Regions from separate parts of the Homo sapiens genome. Here region 1 is linked to region 2. The links are contacts of gene promoters, found by promoter capture Hi-C in human tissues and cell types (Jung and others, 2019). All regions are on one chromosome and are shown on one strand. The core of a region is centred on a gene start or on the middle of the fragment in contact, and the rest is flanking DNA. Distances in the headings are between cores, read along the strand shown. Region 1 has its middle 55 kb from the start of ACADM. Region 2 holds the start of SLC44A5 (solute carrier family 44 member 5).

Region 1 (3,201 bases), core at 608-3,107, 58 kb before region 2:
CCTAAATCTGCCTACCTTACCTTACTCATTCCTTCTTGTAAAAACCATAGGAAAGTCTTTGGTCCATGCTTTCTCCTTACGCCTTTGTCTCCTGAGTGACCTTGGTGCTTCCCTATGTTACGTGCAGTGCTTCCTGTTTCTAAGGATGTGTGAGTATAAACTTCTTTCTTCATGACGGTCATTTCTGTTTCTGTGTGTGCATGTCTTATCATACCCAATTAAAACAAATCCCAGATATATTTTAACACAATTCCTCACCATATGTCTGGCATTTAAAACTCCAGTAAGACAACTGTCCCTATTATTGGGATAATCAGGTCATGAATTTCAAAGTATAGTCACAAGAACCCTCTTTGAAGAGGGGGTGTGGTTTCTATCTTACTCCTTGTCAGAAAGAATATAATGACAGCTATCTTTTCTGAATTGTTCAGCACACTCTTCTTCTTCCCCAATTCTGTATTTTCTCCTATATATAGATTGGTTTACCCACCTTCTTCTCCAGTGATCTAGAAGTTGGGACAGTCTATTTTAAATTCCACTTTAAGCCATTACAAATTTCAAAACATTATTAAGCATATTTATATAATTGTCAAATATAAAAACAAAATAACTTTAGTTTTTCATGGGAGATTTAGACCTAGTTTTAATTCTATTGTTTCTAGCATTTAGAATTGCAAAAAAGAAGGCAAATTCCCTTTCATTCTGTTGTATGTAATTTCATTTTGTGTTGTCTAGAATTTTTTAGAGTCTTTCTTTACTTTTGAGCTTTAAAAGTCATCATAATATATTTATTAATTTTTCCTTACATGTAGGAATATCTCAACTCTGGGATCAAATAACTTCTTAAATTGGGAAGGTTTTCTTTTAGGTATCATTGATTATTACCTTTGCTTACTTTATTTTCCTTTGTCCTTTAGAGTTTTCTGTTATTTACAGGTTCAAAAGGTTAGAAATATGACTATTTTCTGTATTCATTATCATATCTTCTATCTTTTTGATCTCTTTATCTTCTCTTTTTGTATTTTAGAAGTCTTGTAATTTGTATCATTAATTCTATTTGCTCAACTCTTGAGCTCCTTCAGGCTGGGGATTATGTCTAATTCTAATTTGTATAGTAAGTGCTATCCTTCTCTCATGTTATACATTTTTAAATAGGTTCCATATTTGTTTTTCCCCTAATAATTCAACCCTCAAAACAGAGATATTTGGCTTTTATAATTTACTGAAGTGTTGGCAGAAACCCTTTCATTCATCTATGAAGGTGAAAGATGTATATAGAGAATTTAGTAAAGCTCCTGGTATGTTTGAGACTCAATTTCTGTCCTCAAGACTGTGAAGAAATTGCTCAAGTATTTTATTTATTTAAATACATGGGTTTGTATGTGTCTGGTGTTTTTTTTTGTGCGTGCATGTGTGTTTGTGTGTGTATGTGTGGTGGGGATGGGAAGAACGTAAGGGAGAACTTATAGTGGCGTCAGAATTCTGACAACAAGAGTTAGGGGAATGTTCGTTATTAAAAGTAATAAGATTTTTAAAGTGTTTCATTCCCAGAGATTAAAGAACTCCTTATCAATCTCGGCTACCCACCTCCTAAGTTGGGACAGTAGTGATGGTTTGACATGAGATCTTATTTGTGTCCTCCACTGGGTGAGACTATACACTGGCTAAAGGTAATACACTCTAGGGGCTGTCCCAGGAAGAGCAGGCCTTTGACTAAAGTTTGTTTGGGAGTGTCAAGCCAGAATGGAGACTAGATGTAGAGGGAGTAGACCATAAGCAGGGAATCAGTACAGTGACCTTGGGTATAGGGAATCCACATGTCAGGCTTGGAATTCAGGAATGGGACTGGGTCAAGCTTAAAGACTAGAACATCAGCAGAGATGAGATTTAAGGAAGCATCATTTGATTGGCAGAATTTTTTTTATCTTCCAGCTATGTAACAACTCAAGAAAATGAGCTCATCTGGGTACAAAGAAAAGAAAAAAGAACTCAAGAAAAATAGACAGATGGACAAATGAATAGGAAGTTTAATTGAAAAGATTGTGTCTCAAGACCAGATACCTTTCTATTGGTCTGCTTCCTCTTCCTCTTCTTCTTCTTCTCACTTCTTCTTTTGTTGGAGTCTTACTCTGTCACCTAGACTGTAGTTCGGTGGCGTGATCTTGGCTTACTCTTGGCTCACTGCAACCTCCACCTCCTGGATTCTAGTGATTCTCCTGCCCCAGCCTCCCGAGTAGCTGGGATTACAGGTGCGTTGTACCACACCCAGCTAGTTTTTGTATTTTTAATAGAGATGGGGTTTTGCCATGTTGGCCAGGCTGGTCTTGAACTCCTGACCTCAGGTGATCTGCCTGCCTCAGCCTCCCAAAGTGCTGGGATTGCAGGCGTGAGCCACTGTGCCCAGCCAATTGGTCTGTTTTCTTCACACAGTCAAATGTTCCTTTAACCACAGAAAGATAAACAAGCGTTTCAGAAAATACTATTGAAAAGCTCCCAGGGCCGGGTGTGGTGGCTCAGGCTTGTAATCACAGCACTTTGGGAGGCCAAGGCAGGCAGATCACTTGAACCCAGGAGCTGGAGACCAGCTGACCAGCCTGGGGAACATGGTGAAACTCCTTCTCAAAAAATTAACCGGGCATGGTGTCATATACCTGTAATCCTAGCTACTCGGGAGGCTAAGGCTGGAGGATTGCTTGAGCCCAGGAGGTCGAGGTTGCATGTGAGCCGTGATTATGCCACTGCACTTCAGCCTGGGTGACAGTGAGATCTTATTTACCAAAAAAAAAAAAAAAAAAAAAAAAAAGGCTCCTAGGATCCAGGACATTCTTTTTAAGTAATCCTCCCCAAGGAATATAATTATAACAAGTTGATAGTTACCTATTTTTTATTAGCCCAGTGCCACTTCCACAGTAAAACCTATTATCTTATACCTGGAGTGATATAACTTGTTTAAAAATTTATAATTTTTAATAGGTAATTCCGTTGTTGTCTTAATGAGATAGCAATGTGTTTAGCAGAAACATGGCAATAGACACTCTTAGAGGATTTAAAGTTTCACAAATGGCAAATTATTTGGAAGTGAATAAATTAGTTATATAAAATAAGAGACAACCAGAATGCTTCCAGGTGAAAATTCAGGCTTTCTAAGAGACCCCAGTCTGGGAGCATGCTTGCTATCTTCTGCTTTGTGAAAACATCTTC
Region 2 (3,244 bases), core at 721-3,220:
TAAGCCTAGAAATTGGCCAAAGAGAAATGCAGTTTCTTAACATTGATAGAAGAATAAGATCTGTTGGCAGGATTTCTCAAGGGACATTAGCATTCATTTGTGACATCTCATCAAAAGGACAGTCTTTCAGAAAGGCCAATGGAATCTTTTACAATCCAATATTGATAATGTTTTTAACGAAAAAATGCTATAGTTCATAATCAATACAAGTCTTATAAATGCAAGCTGGTTACATTGGTTATAATCACGTCACCACCCCCACCCCTGCCTTTTCCAATATTAGTACAACAAAGACTTCTTGCTCAATTACTTAAGTGTAAAACTTATGTTTAGGTTAATTTATTCATTTATTCATTTAGCACATATTTATTGAGCACTGAATATGTACCAGATTCTGTGCAAAACACTAGGGATACGGTAATGAACATGATAGACAATGAAGTAAGAGGAGGCCTGGAAGAAGCAGGTGACAAATAATATGAACCAGAAAATTTCACATAGTGATTAATACCAGGAGAAATAAAACAAAGTGATGTGCGAGCAAATGATTTTGAGGTTACTTTAGATTGTCTGGAAAGGTGGCATTTGTGTCGGGAAACAAGTGATGAAGAGTAATTTGCATGCCAAGAACTGGAACATAACACTTCAGGCCTTAAGGTAGAAATGAGGTGGTAGCTTGGCACATTCACATACAAAAGGAAGAGGTGTAATGTGTAAGGAAGAGACAGTTAGGGAGAAGCCAGGCCTTTTTGGTCATAAAAAGGAATATAGAGTTTAAGTGCAATGAGAAGCCATTGGATATTCACTTGCTATTTGGGGATACATTCCTCTCCTGGAAGATTATTTCAGGGAGAGGAGCATTCCTACATCAACTCCCTAGGCCAACTAAGGTGACCTAATAGACTTCACTTTTCTAAAAGGTCCAGTTATACTCACGTTATTTTCTCTTGCTATTCACCAGAATACCTATGCAATTTCAGGCTGAGATATTGATAGCATCTCTAGGAATCCCTGCTTAGAAAACAATTCTAGAGAGAATGAGGATTAATTTAACATTTAGTACAAGATGATAAGATTAGTCACTTCCCTGGCAAGCCTTTCAATGCAAGTAAGTCTTAGGAAAAACATATTGTAATGGTAGAGGGGGATTCTGAGGGGTCCAGAACATGACTGTGCAGTAGGCAGAATGTGGAAGGCAGCATGAGGGGCTCCTAGATAACAGAAAGGGGTCCACAGAAGGAGAAGAGTGATGTTTGGAAGGGGACATGAGAAAGCCTCTAAAACAACATCAGCCAATTCGTGATTTTGCCAAGTGGAAGCCTGATATGAGCATGTTCCAAGAGAAACATTCTCATTCAAACACAGAAAAAGTTTAAACCAGGGTACTTTTATGCTTTTGACTGATCTTTTTATAATGAAGCATTTGTAACAATAAAAGCACACAGATGTTTACAAAGTCTCTTTGATTTTACTTAATCACTGTCAGGTTGTTCTGATGGATTACAGACCTCACAAATGAAAATAGCATGAACATATTAATGATAACTGCTGTTTGTTGGAGGTAGTTGCTTGATAGCTAGTTAAGGAAATCATGCTCTTGGGTCTCATTTTACTGTAGAGATGTTGGTAAGTGGGATATGGGGTATATTGGATGATTTTCTTTCCCCTAAGCATTTGTGACAAGAAGGTGCTATGATATTCAGGAAAGACACAAATAATAGTAGATTATTTTAAAGGTAATCATGGCCTACTTCCACCTCCAAACTACCTACTTCTTTGCCAAGGATTAACAATGAAAAAATATACTATAGCTCCAGGACTTTGTTCAGTCTCCTCCCCCTCTTTATACTCCAAGTGACTCCTTTGAGGCTAGCAAGGCTAGTAGGACCTCAGGGATTACCTAAGAATGGGGTATGGCCCTTAGTGATACTGGAACACAATGTGTTTATGACATCAGCTTTTTTTTCACAGTAGTGAATCGTAGCATGTTAGAGTTAGAAGGTTCAGTGTTGATGGAGTTATTGAAGAAATGATGGAGTAAGAGGTGAGTGATACTGCTAAATGCAAGAAGTCTATGTCTGTAGGAAAATTGGTCAAGTTTGTTATTCATAAGTACGTATTCTATACAACTCAAGAAATACACACACACACACACATATATATAGTGAAGTCTGAATATAAATTAGGAACTGAGCACTTCCTCTCCGTGTGTGTGTGTGTATATATATAGATATCCTGGGGGATTATTTAAAGAGAGTAGTATTTTTACATCAGCTCCCTAGGCCAAGTAAGGTGACCCAATGGACTTCACTTTTCTAAAAAGTCCAGTTACACTTATGTATCTTCTCTTAATATTCACCAAAATATCGACAATATTTCGGGCTGAGATGTTGATAACATCTCTAGGAATCCTTACCTACTGGTATTCACACCTGTTCATACTCCCCTTCCAAAATGAATCACAGCTGACCATGTGATCAGTACTGTACAGCAGAAAACTACATCATAAAGACATACACTATGGCTTCTGCCTTGTTCTTTTGTATTCTTTGCTTTCTTATGTTGCTCATTTTGGGGAAACCAGATGCCATGTTTTAAAAATACTCAAGGATCCCTTGGATTATTTTTTGAAGCAGAGGTTCATACAGATATTATTAACATTTCAGCCCAAAATATTGTCGGTATTTTGATGAATAGTAAGAGAAGATACATAAGTATAACTGCACTTTTTAGAAAAGTGAAGTCCATTGGGTCACCTTACTTGGCCTAGGGAGCTGATGTAGAAATATTGCTCTCTCTAAATAATTCTCCAGGATATCTATGTGTATATAGGTATATGTATGTATATGTATATACCTATGGAGAGAGAAGAAGAGCTCAGTTCCTAATTTATATTCAGACTTCACTATGTGTGTGTGTGTGTGTGTGTGTGTGTGTGTGTGTGTGTATTTCTTGACTTGCATAGAAGTCTTGAATCTTAGCTCTGTGTGGGAAGAACTGAGGCCTCCTGCTAATAGCAACAACTTGCTAGTTATGTGAGTGATCTATCTTGGGAACAGACCCTGCAACCAAGTCAAGCCTTCAGATGACTGTAGCTTCAGCCAACATCTGACTGAATTTCATGATAGCCCCGACCCAGAGCTATCCAATCAAGCTGCTTCTGGATTCCTGAATCACAGAAACCATAAGATATAATAAATGCTTACTCTTGTCTTAAACCACTAAAATTTGGGGGTAATAGGTT

Evidence for each region. The method cuts DNA at HindIII sites, captures the fragments that hold promoters and counts their contacts. A contact is called where the count stands out against the background at its distance.
Region 1: a contact is called between a fragment that was not itself captured here and the fragment with the promoter of SLC44A5 in region 2, in 1 of the 25 tissues and cell types used here (spleen).

What each region holds. Positions count from the first base shown.
Region 1 is chr1:75,667,918-75,671,118 of GRCh38, reverse strand. It overlaps a transcript of SLC44A5 not described here. Among named protein-coding and RNA genes, the nearest start is that of ACADM, 55 kb to the left of the region's middle. The HindIII fragment of the contact is 6,184 bases long and covers 1-3,201 here.
Region 2 is chr1:75,609,840-75,613,083 of GRCh38, reverse strand. SLC44A5 (solute carrier family 44 member 5) reads left to right here and starts at 1,970. Exons shown (of 24, transcript NM_001130058.2): 1 at 1,970-2,044. The HindIII fragment of the contact is 17,791 bases long and covers 1-3,244 here.